Linked DNA regions of Homo sapiens: regions 2, 3 and 4 are each linked to region 1. Evidence: promoter capture Hi-C in human tissues and cell types (Jung and others, 2019). All regions are on one chromosome and are shown on one strand. The core of a region is centred on a gene start or on the middle of the fragment in contact, and the rest is flanking DNA. Distances in the headings are between cores, read along the strand shown.

Region 1 (2,959 bases), core at 133-2,632:
TTAAATCAGTGAAATATTAAAACAAATGATAAACCCATGCCAACCTCACAAAGTTTCCTCATTCCTTGGAATTCAAACACCACCGATGGCATCATTTTATGATAATCCTTTGGGTATTTCACGTAAGTAATTAGACACAATGTAAAGCCAGTGACTGAGGGACTTAAACAAACTGTCCCCTCCGAGAGCCCAGTTGGAGCTTCCGACACTGACCTTATTCTCCTCTCAATTTTAACCCTCCTCAACCACTCAATCCATCCAAAAACGTCTGTGACAGTCGTGGCTCTAAAACCGCGCAGAACTTGACTACAGAACGGTCGGTGACAACTCCACATATGATTTATCCAAATTAATTTATTTTTTTGAATTCTAGTCCCATGCTCCCTCGGCTGTTTGCCCCGAACCCGTAGTCTACACCACTTCACCGACGTGAAGACCACCTTTCATTGTTTCTATGGGTCTCAGCATCCTTCCCTCCGTCCAGCTCTGTTCTCGCCGCACAAATGTCATTTCTAGCGTACCACCCTCCATTCCGCCCGGTGGGCAGCGCAGGGGCTTTCGGGTCCCAGTGGCCAGTTTCCTGGAGTCGGTCCCCTATGCACAGCCATTTTCTAGTTAAACGCTCTCTCTGCCACCGAGGGGGAAAAGGAACTTTTCCCCCCTTTCATGTCTCATGGGCTGGCCTCTGAACCCCTCGTGGAGAAGCCAACCCCGGCTCCAACTCCCCGGCAGGAGCGCGCTGCCGCCCAGGAGAGACAGCCGAGCGGCACAGCGGAGGCCGGTGCCAGGACAAGGGGGTGTGCGCTCTTCCCGCAGGCGCCCACCCTCACTTTTCCCCTCTGCAGTCCCCACCCGGGCGCACCGCCTCCAACCCGGTCTCCCCCGCCCCAGGCCCTGCCAAGCCGGGGCTGCTGAGGGAAAGAGGGCGCCGGGAAGCGGGAGGGATGGAAGTCAAGGAGAGTGAGCCCGCAGTCGCCGTGCCACTGGCCCTGCGGCGCGGGCGCAGGGCGCACGGGACTCCGCAGCAGGCGCCCCGCTGCAGATGCCGCGGCAGCTGCTGCAGGTGTGGCTGCGGCTGAGCGGGCAGCAGTGGCCGCGGAGCCCCGGGGCCGGGAGCAGAGGAGAAGCCGCCGGGGGAACCCGCAGCCGCTCGCCGCACGCTGCTGCCGCTACCCGGGTGTTTCCCCAGCACTCTCGTGCTGCCCCGGAATCCGGGGCAAAGGCAAGGAAGAAAGCTGGGCTCACCAGTGGTGCGCGCGGCGCTCGCCTCGGCTCCGGCGCCCAGCGGCTCTGCTCCAGTCTCGCCCTTCCCGGAGCGCCCAGATCAGATGCGGTTACAGCGCACTAGCTTCCTACTTGAGACCAGAACGGGCTCCGGCAACTGAGCATGCTCAGTGCCGTTCCGCGAGTCCCGCGCAGGGAGCGGCGCTGACGAGATTCCACTTCTCCAGGCTTTGGCAGCGGCTGCGCGAGGGAAGGCTGGAGGGACCCGGCGGGGAGGGGGCCGAATGGGAGAAAGGCGGGGCCGGGGGGTGGGGGCCGGGCAGAAGGAGGCGGGCCGCGCTCCCAGGGCGACCCCTGCAGGTGGAGGCGGCAGGGCCTGCGGGAGGCACCCTCCCCAATCGCCTGGGAACACGCAGGGAGGCAATGGGTCCCCCAGTAAGACCCAAAGGCAGGACGTGCAGTGCAGCCCGGGTATCCCCTCCGTGTGGCTGGTGTCTGTCTGCACCAAAAGGCAGTTGGGTTACCTTAGCCCTGGCTTTTCTCCCACACGCCAGCATTCCCTTGCAATAGGAAAATGTCCCCACAGGAGAGCTGCCCACACCCACCCAGGCTAACTGCAAGTTGTAGGCGACACCTTCTCCTTCCTTCTACCTCCTATCCCCACCCCCAGGCATATGCCGCACACACACTCTTCTTTGATCCGGAAATCACAAGATAATATCAGGGGAGAGATACAACTGCCGGAGAGGAAAAGGAGGTTTTCCTTTCCATTGCCAATAATATTATCTATAACTCTAATTGTAAGCGTGCAAACAAAGCCCTGATAAGAGTCGAGTCTCAGTAAACGGTAAACCGTGCTCTGCCCCAGACGCTGTGAATGACATCCCCAAAGTATCCTTAGGATTGCTCTTCACCAGGGCAGCGGTTGTCAAACTGGAGCCTGGATCAGAATCGCCTGGAGGGTTTGCTGAAGTACAAATCCCTGAGTCCCAATCTGTGTCTCTGAATGGGTAGATATGTGGTGGGGCCCAAGCATCTGTATATCTAACAAGTTCCCATGGGATGCTGATGCTGCTGGTGTGAGGACTATACACTTTAGAGAACCCTACCCATACACACACACACACACAGTCCTACCAAGGATCTCGAATTAAAAACTCACGTGATTCTTCCTATGAGGACTCTATGCAGTGGGGTGGGCATTACTTTATTCTTTCCTACATGAGTTTATTAAGGATCCACGAGGTCTTGTACTAGGCCTGAGGATAGTGGTGAATTTAAAAGCCCAGGCCCCTGCTTTCATGGAATTTATAGTCCGGCCGGGTGACAGACACCTATCAAATAATCACTCAAAACGGTTATTTCAAACAGGTAGAGTGCTGGGAGGGAAATGCACAAGGTGCGAATAGAGTGTATAGAGGGACCCTCATGCAGACTCAGTGAGGTTGTTACGAAGGGATGGGAGGGGGGCTGCCTTGTGGAAGGTGGTTTCTGACTTTTGCACTCCAATAACCTCTCCAATTAACAATTATCTCCCTCAGACCGAGCTGGAGGCCAGCAATCATGTCCCTCCTTCCTACAACATAAAAACAATACTGTCACAGAGAAATCCCTATAAATTCATGAAAAGTGTTTACTCTTGGGACTGAGTCTCTGCACCCCAAGATCCACCTAACACGTCCGTGGACCAAGGACAGTCGAGGGCCACAGTAGACCTCTTGGGGAAAATACAGGC
Region 2 (2,959 bases), core at 336-2,835, 420 kb before region 1:
AGGTAGTGTTCACATACTGTCACTTAGTATTCACAATAACTTTTTGAGGTTAGTGTTCTTCTAATTGTAGAGGAAAAAAACCAAGACTCAGAAAAATTAAACCAGTTGCTTATGGTCATGTAGCTAGTAAGTAGGGAAGCTGGGATTCAAATTCAGGTGGGTTAGCACATTTTCCTTCCACTAAACGACACTATCTTTAACTGGGTTTACACTGTACCACATGGAATTTTGACTTGCTATAGAAAATTTCTTTCCAGAGAGACTTCAGCCAAAGAATAACCAATTCAGATGGTAGAATGGTAGGTAGGCTGAGAAAATTTCTAGATGAACTTTAAGAAATAATCAAAGAACAATTAGTAGACACTGAAAGAAAAGGGGGAAGGAAAAAAGGGGGAAGAAATAGCAGCTATAATAAGCATAGCAGTCAGGAGAACTAGAGCTCAGAACTGTGAGACTCTGGCCTTATCCTGGGCCATTTTGAGGTGGAAATCCAGAAAAAAAATAAACCACAGAATAAAAATAAACTAAAGGCTAGAGGAGAAAGGCCCAGAGGAAAATACAAATAAGGAAAGTGGGGAAAGGAAAACATTTCCTAGGTACTGGTAATGTTTTGAAAGCCTTGATGAGGAGATGATAGGATAAGCTAAGAAGTTGTCGTATACTGGCCGGGAGCGGTGGCTCACGCCTGTAATCCCAGCACTTTGGGAGGCCGAGGAGGGCGGATCACGAGGTCAGGAGCTCGAGACCATCCTGGCTAACACGGTGAAACCCCGTCTCTACTAAAAATACAAAAAATTAGCCGGGCGAGGTGGCGGGCGCCTGTAGTCCCAGCTACTCGGGAGGCTGAGGCAGGAGAATGGCTTGAACCCCGGGGGGCGGAGCCTGCAGTGAGCCGAGATCGCGCCACTGCACTCCAGCCTGGGCGACAGCAAGACTCCATCTCATTTAAAAAAAAAAAAGTTGTCGTATCCTGAAGTAAGCGGGCTTTTGAAGGAACCTGTACTCTGAGGAGCTAAAAGCTTGAGCAAATAAGGAGCTGCCGACCTAGTGACTCTGGTGGGAACGTGGAACGTTAGCCAGAAACTTAGTGGGGGTGAATCCGAAAGATTATTTTATTAAACTTAGATACAAGGTAGAATGGAACAATAAGGAATTAGTTTTAAAAACATTTTAACATCGAAAAATATTAGAACCATTGAGAAATATATGAAGTTGGTCCTTGCTAACGACTTGGAATTATTTTAAGATAGAATTAAAGAAATAGATAATACGACTTTGGAGTATAATAATTTGTAATAGTCCTTTAACAAGTAATGGATAGTTTTAGAACAGAGAAAAAAAATGTGAAATGTAGGCCAGGCACAGTGGCTCACACCTGTAATCCCACCACTTTGGGAGGCTGAGGTGGGTAGATCGGTTGAGGCCAGGAGTTCGAGTTCAGCCTGACCAACATAGTGAAACCCAGTCTCTACTAAAAATACAAAAATTAGCCGGGCATCATGGTGAACACCTGTAGTCCCAGCTATTCAGGAGGCTGAGGCATGAGAATTGCTTGAACCCAGGAGGCAGAGGTTGCAGTGAGCCGAGATGGTGCCACTGCACTCCAGCCTGGATGACAGAGTGAGATCCTGTCTCAAAAAAACAGCAACAACAACAACAATAACAAAAAACAAAAAACAAAACCTCATGAAATGTAAAACTAAATTGGGAAGAAATGGAGTTTAATTAACCTTTAGTGATAGTACTGGAATGGGCAACAGCCACATACATGGTATAAATAATTGGCTGTCATGCTCTAGTGAGTTCTAGAGAGGCAGTATAATACAGAGTTTAAAAATTTGGGTCCTCTGGTTAGATTTCTGAGTTAGAATCCTGGCTGTCCACTTAGTAGCTATATAACCTTAGACAAGTTGTTTAATGTATGTTTAAACAATTATCTCAATGTTAGAAGGGCTAGTAATTCTTCAAGAGGTCGTTAAAATAATCTACATAAAGTAGCATTCAGTATATCTTCATTAATATTGTCAATACATATATTTAAATTATTTTTCAAAAATTAAAAAATGTAAGACATTATTTCTTAATCTGTTATGAAGACATAACATTTGCTTTTCTGAATTTTTTCTTCCAAAGTTTCTTTTGGAAAGTTAGTATTTTAAACCATATCCTTGTGTGTTCCCAGATCTGACTATAGCCCATTCGTTTTTATCTTGGAAAATAAATCTTATTTTCTCTATCCAGTATTAGTCTCGAGACTGACGGCATTTTCTCTTCTGTGTCTAAATGACTTATATGACTACTTGGATGACTATCTCATAGCAACTTGGAGAAAAACAATATTAAATATTTTCAATATTGTTTTTGAAAAGCAATATTAAAATGAAACAGAATTAACTTTATTGTTCTAATTTTTAAGTCAACATTTTAATATCTATTTAGTTTTAATAGATATTTTCCATGAAACACTTTTATTGGTAGGCAAAATGATTGAAAAATTATATGATGATAACAATATGTAAAAAGTTTTTAATGGTGCTATATTTAAAAGCATTTCTTTTTAAAATTCAGATACAGAATTCCTTAAAGATCACTCTCAAGGAGGCATCTCAGTGGACAAACTTCACGTTCTTGCTCAACAGCAGTATGAACAGCTAACACATGCAATGAAATGTAAGGTTGTCATAGGCACCATCTTGTTAAAATAAGGTGTACATTTTAGAAATATTAGTCTTTCACGATCTATTATAATCAAGCAATGAAGTGTGAGCCATGAGCACATTTTCCAGAACATTCAGTCTTACTGCCTTCAAATAACAAAATATTTATCTTTACCAATTTAATCTGTTTTTAGAATATATGCTTTACTGTAATTTTAAACAGGTTAGCAAGCATAATTTACCAATTTTGTAATGCCGAAGTGAAATAATTATGTATATTTGTAATTGTAGTTTCAGCTTTC
Region 3 (2,959 bases), core at 304-2,803, 390 kb after region 1:
GCTGTCTTAGAGATCATTTCCTCACTACCTAACTTTCCCTAACGCTGGAGTCGTTTTAACTACTCAACCGTGTTTGTGTTGCCTGACATGGCATTGGGTTCTTATTAAAGTGATTTTACATTTAATGGATACCTCATGGGTGGTGGTTTTTTAAAATCGATGTAAATCAGCTCTTTCCTTCCTGCCTTCCTGTTAGTGGTACATTATTGACTCCTTAGTTTAAACGTCATTCTTGAGGGAAAAATCTGCTCTTGTGCGTTTTGTTCCACAGGTATTAGTTACCATTTACTGGCTGGGAAAAGCAGCAAACAGCTGCACATCCTACAGCGGAACGACACTAAACCTGAAGGAGTTTGAAGGATTGTTGGCTCAGATGCGAAAGGTAACTTGGCTTTTCTTCTTTATCCCATAAGCGTTAGACAAGGTGGGAAAGCTACACATTTGCTTGTTTTTAAGATTACTAGAGTACTGGGTTGTGGAATGGTATGAGCCAAAGATATGCACTCAAGGAAACGATCACTTGTCTTACCAATGACATCTTTGCCTCATGCATGTCACACCTACCTGCACTTTCATACCCTTCAGAGAACAGGAGTTCTGAGCTCCATCCAACTTTTTAATTCCAAAAAAGCAAATTCAATCTATCAGTATATGCCTTTGTATGCCAAGATGCTCAGTGCTTGTTTTCTTGGGGGAATAATGCTTGAATTAAACAATGCAGTATTATGCAAAAATGAAGACTCGCTCTGCACTTTTGTGCTAAAGGGCATTTTGCTTACCCACTGGGGCCTTGATGTGGGTGAGGTAACGTGAACCAAGCTCTTACCTTGGCATACGCTCTGGACAAGGCGGGATACATTAAATGCATTCTCCTCTAACATGTGCATGTTATAGCCACTGTTTTTGAATGACATAGGAATTTGGAAAACATTTCATACATTGTTAAAAGCTTCATTTGTTTCTTTGAGTATAGAAAAGACTGACCTAAGGTAGGGATTTGTCAAGGAAACAGTTGAATGTTTCATGTGTACTACTTGCCTGAATGTTTCATCTGAAGGTCCAGCAATATACAACTCATACAAATGGCTAGTACATAGTGTTACCCAGGAGAGGCCCTCCCAACCCGCCTTAGTGTACAGGTAAGGCTTATTTATAATGGACCTCCATGTACTTTTTTAATTATTTTATTTTTTTGAGATGGATTCTTGCTGTGTCGCCCAGGCTGGAGTGCAGTGGCGCAATCTCAGCTGACTGCAACGTCCGCCTCCCAGATTCAAGTGATTCTCCTGCCTCAGTCTCCCGAGTAGCTGGGATTATAGGCAGCCACCACTAAGCCTGGCTAATTTTTGTATTTTTAGTGGAGACAGGGTTTCACCGTGTTGGCCAGGCTGGTCTTGAACTCCTGACCTCAGGTGATCCACCCACCTTGGCCTCCCAAAGTGCTGAGATTGCAAGTGTGAGCCACCGCACCCGGCCCCTCCAGGCATTTTGGATAAAGTCCACATTAGAGGACAAATAATTGAGGCCTTACTCTTCCTCATTTCTCTAGTATGCAAAATAAATGAACTAGAAACATTCAGTTCCTTGCAATTTTTCTTTTAATACTGAAAGCAAGAATTGGTTCCAATTTTCTAAACATTTATTTTCCTTTCCTTAAATTAAAGCTAATGGTCCTGATAGTTCTTCACATTTGGCTAAGGCCAGTCTGGCTCATGTATTTATAAATGGCCAAAGCTTTCATATTGGTCATAACGCACATACACAAGGTACTTTAAGCTGAATTCCTTTAAAAATTAAATAAACACAGACACACAATGAAGCACAACTCATTGCTTCTCAGTCTCACCTCTTATTTGCCCTTTAATTTCTCATCTAACATCCAGTCTGGATTTGAGATGTCTAAATGTTTATTGTTTTTATATTAAATTTGGACTTGAATAATAATAGATGGGTCATGAAGCTTTGTCTCACAGTTCCCCTGCTAGATTCTGTTGGAATCTGATTTATTCTCATGATTGACATTTCTTACTACTAGTCCAGCTCCTGTAGAATCTGAGCAGCTATTGGTTTCTTCAACTCTCCTAGCTTCTCTTTCTACAGTTAGTTTCTTCAACTGCTGTAAAATGACCTGTTGTTAACAGCTGTTACCCTTTTTGTTGAATGTAGGTAACATCACAGGACATGGTGGAGTAAGTAGTATCCCTGGATACATGACTCTTAGCAAAAATGGCCAGCCATGATACTGCCATATCTCCATCTAGAGAGAAAATGACTTGAACTTCACTGGACTATCTGAGCACCTGGAAATACTAGTTTTATATGTGATATATATAATCTCATTTTGTCAGTTAGGATCGGGTTCAGCTGGGAAACACAAAAGCCTCAAAATAACAGATAAAATAAGACAACAATTTTATTTCTAATTCACATAAATGAGACGTGGACATGAGCAGTCCAGGGCTGATGTGGGGTTCCATGTCTTTTCACCAACAGAAGGCCCAAGCTTCTTTGTCTTTTTGTACCAACAACCTCAACCCATGGCTGTTCACCTGCTGATCCAAGATGGCTGTTCAGGCTTTAGCCATCATGTCCACATTCAGCCAAGAAAAGGGAGGAATGGCGGGGAGAAGATTCCATGCTCTCCCTTTAAACACACCTCTGGGAAATTACACACTACACACATAGCTACATCTTACAGACTTGAACTTGGTCATGCATCCATATCTAGCTGCAAGCAAAGACTTGGGGAAAGTAGACTTTATTTCAGCTAAAAACTGTAGGCATTTTTGTTAGGAGAGCAGATATTGAGGGACAACTGTAATCTCTTCTGCACATATGCAGGCTGAAATAAATTTGAAATTAGTTTTTTTTCTTTCACAAAGGAGATTATCCACAAATTTTTATATTCATTTTTCTAGTGGGTGAAATGTGCATAAAAATGATTCACTAGGGTGCAACT
Region 4 (2,959 bases), core at 271-2,770, 320 kb after region 1:
TGGCTTAAAACAACAACATTTATCATCTCATTGTTCTCATGGGTCAGGAATATGAGCAAGGCTTAGCTGGGTCTCTGGTTCAGGGTCCCTCACAAGGCTGCATTCAAGGTGTTGGTCAGTATCATTTCCAGGCCAGAGTAGGGAGCTTAGAACTTCCGTTTCTAAGCTTACTCGTGGATATTGGCAGGATTCAGTTCCTCACAGGCTGTTGGCCAAAGCCATCCTTGTGTACTTGCCATGTGGGTCTTTCTATAGAACAGCTTACAGGGTTGCAGCTTGCATCATCAGAGTGAGCAAGCAGGAAGGGCCTGAGAAAGAAAGAAAGAGAAAGGGAGGGAGACAACAAGTGAGATGGAAGTCACAGTCCTTTATAACCTAATCTCTGAAGTGATGTTTTGTCAGTTCTGCCTTATTCTATTAATTAAAAGCAAGTTGCTAGGCCCAGCCCACATTCAAGGGGAGGAGGTCCCACAAGGGTCTGAATGCCAGGAGGAAGGGATCTCTGGGAGCTCTTCAGAAGCTGCTTGTCCCGATGAATGAAATGGTTGTATCCGTCTATTGAGCAGCCAGGGCATAGATCTCTCATTCTCCTGAACACCGGCTCCTTGTGCTTATAGGACTTTAAAGATAACACAGTTTTCCTTGGTTAACCTTTCTTGCATGACATCCAAGGACTTTTTTCTAATTTTCTTCTGCACATATATACCAAATAGAGATGATGTGTTCTCTCTCTTGCCTTCCAAGTAAAAATCCACTTCAAGACATAATTCCTGCCTTTTAGGAGACTACTTTCTAGAAGACAAATATAGAAGAAAGGTCAAATGTAAGGTAGACTGTGAAATGTTAATGAAGTATAATATGCAAGAAAGACCAAGGAAGAAATTTTGATTTGTGATTAAGAACTTTGGAAGGGGTGGGATTTGAACAGGGCGTCTACAAATAGTGAAGATCATGGAGTTAGAGGAAGAACAACTAGCTTCAGGGCATGGAATGAGAAAGGCTCTGAGTCAGAAGGACCTGGGTCTTATCTGGAAGTGGCTATCATTTGCATTATTTGCACTGGGTCCAGTGGCTGCAGCTGGACGCAGAGTCCCTGAGAAAATCCATGCTTGGAAACTAGACCAGGAATAGTAAGCTGAGACCAGAAATGCCATCTGGGGGTGTTTGGACTCATTTTGTGTGCAGTAAAAGCCACTGAAAACAAGGGAATCTCGTGTTCCAGATAACTGAGGTGGCCGTATAGAAAGCTGATTATGGCAAGATACCAGCAATAAAAGTCAAGTAGGAGATAAGTAGTCCAAATGAGAGAGGATGGACACTTAAACCTTAGTAGAAGCAGTGGGATTAGAGATGAGGAGACAGGATTTACTTTTCACTAAATGTAATATGCCATCAATGATGACACACACCATTTTTAAAAATTATAGCTCATTTAAAAAAGCTGCCAATTCAATGATGACACAATGCTAAGACACTGGCAATGAAAAAAATGCATCTTTATTTCAGAGGTTAAAAAAGGTGTACATCTTAGAACTGATGAAATACAACAGATAATTTTAGGAAGATGACATTTGCATTTTGGACTTGAGCAGTGTGGAGGGTACTGATGCCATTAATAGGAATCATGGGAACATGGGAATGAGAAATGAGCTCCAAAAGAAAAGATGCATTCTCTTTTGGACATATTGAGTTGGCTATCTCTAAAAGATATTCATGTGCAGATGTCTGGCAGACTATTAGAAATGCTGGTTTGGAACTCAAGGAAAAAGTTACAAAAAATTGGACTAGGTTAATGGATGGACTATTTTGAAGTTAAATCCTATGCTTCAGTATAAATGAAGACATATTTTTTTTTTCTATAACCACTATGAAGTTCCCCTCCCCCTCCAAATTATAGTATTGTCTTTGGAGTGTTTGATCCACATTGGCAGGGACTGGGATATGGAGAAAGGAGTGAAAAAAGGAGTTTGAGACTACAGGAAAAGTCATTAGCAATTGCACTTAGAATTGAAAATCATGACAGAAAGACCGGTGCAGTGGCTCATGCCTATAATCCCAGAACTTTGGGAGCCTAAGGCAGGTGATCGCTTGAGCCCAGGAGTTCAAGACCAGCCTAGGCAACATGGCAAAATCTTGTCTTTACTAAAAATACAAAAAATTAGCCAGGCATGGTTGTGCATGCCTGTAGTCCCAGCTACTTAGGAGGCTGAGGTAGGAGAATCACCTGGGCCTGGGAAGTCAAGCCTGCAGTGAGCTTTGAATGTGCCACTGGACTCCAGCCTGGGTGATGGGAGTCGGACCCTGTCACAAAAAAAAAAAAAAAAAAAAAAGAAAAGAAAAGAAAGATCTTCATATAATTGACAATTCATTGAGATATCATATCCATCCAATCTTGTGCCCTGCAGCCTCTCTTATACCCCTGATATTTCATTCTTAGTACTAGATGAGTATATTAATTTGCTCTGATGGCCATAACAAAGTACCACAGATTGGATGGCTTAAATAATAGAAATTTATTTTGTCAATTCTGTAGGTTAGAAGTCTGAGATCAAGGTGTGATCAGAGTGGGTTTGTTCTAAGGCCTGTCTCCTTGGCTCCCAGATGGCTGCCTTTCCCTGCATCTTCACGTGGTCTTTCCCCTGTATGTATCTGTGTCCATATTTTGCCTTTTTATAAGGACACTGTCGTATTGGATTAGGGCCCCCTCAGATGACCTCATATAACTTAATTACCTTCTTACAGTCACTACAGTCACATTCTGAGTTAGAACGGGTTAGGAGTTCAAGATACGAATTGGGGGAGGGAGGAGGAGACAATTTAGCTCGTAACAGTGGGTTAGCCAGCTAAGCCCTTAAATTCTTATTCACGTGTGTTTTGAATGCCTAGACTTGCTAGCTGAAGTCTAATATCCTCTTTCTGCACCACCACAAACTATTTTTCCAAATTTGTTTCCATAATT

The links. Contacts are between HindIII fragments. The study calls those that stand out against the background at their distance.
Region 2: a fragment that was not itself captured here is called in contact with the fragment with the promoter of APBB2 in region 1 in 1 of the 25 tissues and cell types used here (mesenchymal stem cells).
Region 3: a fragment that was not itself captured here is called in contact with the fragment with the promoter of APBB2 in region 1 in 2 of the 25 tissues and cell types used here (hippocampus and liver).
Region 4: a contact is called between a fragment that was not itself captured here and the fragment with the promoter of APBB2 in region 1, in 1 of the 25 tissues and cell types used here (hippocampus).

What each region holds. Positions count from the first base shown.
Region 1 is chr4:41,213,160-41,216,118 of GRCh38, forward strand. It overlaps APBB2 (amyloid beta precursor protein binding family B member 2), which reads right to left and starts at 1,383. Exons shown (of 18, transcript NM_004307.2): 1 at 1,246-1,383. RefSeq lists silencers at 758-1,067, 1,478-1,647. The HindIII fragment of the contact is 7,499 bases long and covers 1-2,959 here.
Region 2 is chr4:40,791,807-40,794,765 of GRCh38, forward strand. NSUN7 (NOP2/Sun RNA methyltransferase family member 7) reads left to right here. Exons shown (of 12, transcript NM_024677.6): 9 at 2,569-2,670. Among named protein-coding and RNA genes, the nearest start is that of NSUN7, 43 kb to the left of the region's middle. The HindIII fragment of the contact is 3,782 bases long and covers 1-2,959 here.
Region 3 is chr4:41,605,623-41,608,581 of GRCh38, forward strand. It overlaps LIMCH1 (LIM and calponin homology domains 1), which reads left to right. Exons shown (of 32, transcript NM_001330672.2): 4 at 272-382. The coding sequence starts at 374. Among named protein-coding and RNA genes, the nearest start is that of LIMCH1, 69 kb to the left of the region's middle. The HindIII fragment of the contact is 3,635 bases long and covers 1-2,959 here.
Region 4 is chr4:41,532,855-41,535,813 of GRCh38, forward strand. It overlaps a transcript of LIMCH1 not described here. Among named protein-coding and RNA genes, the nearest start is that of LIMCH1, 3.8 kb to the right of the region's middle. The HindIII fragment of the contact is 5,667 bases long and covers 1-2,959 here.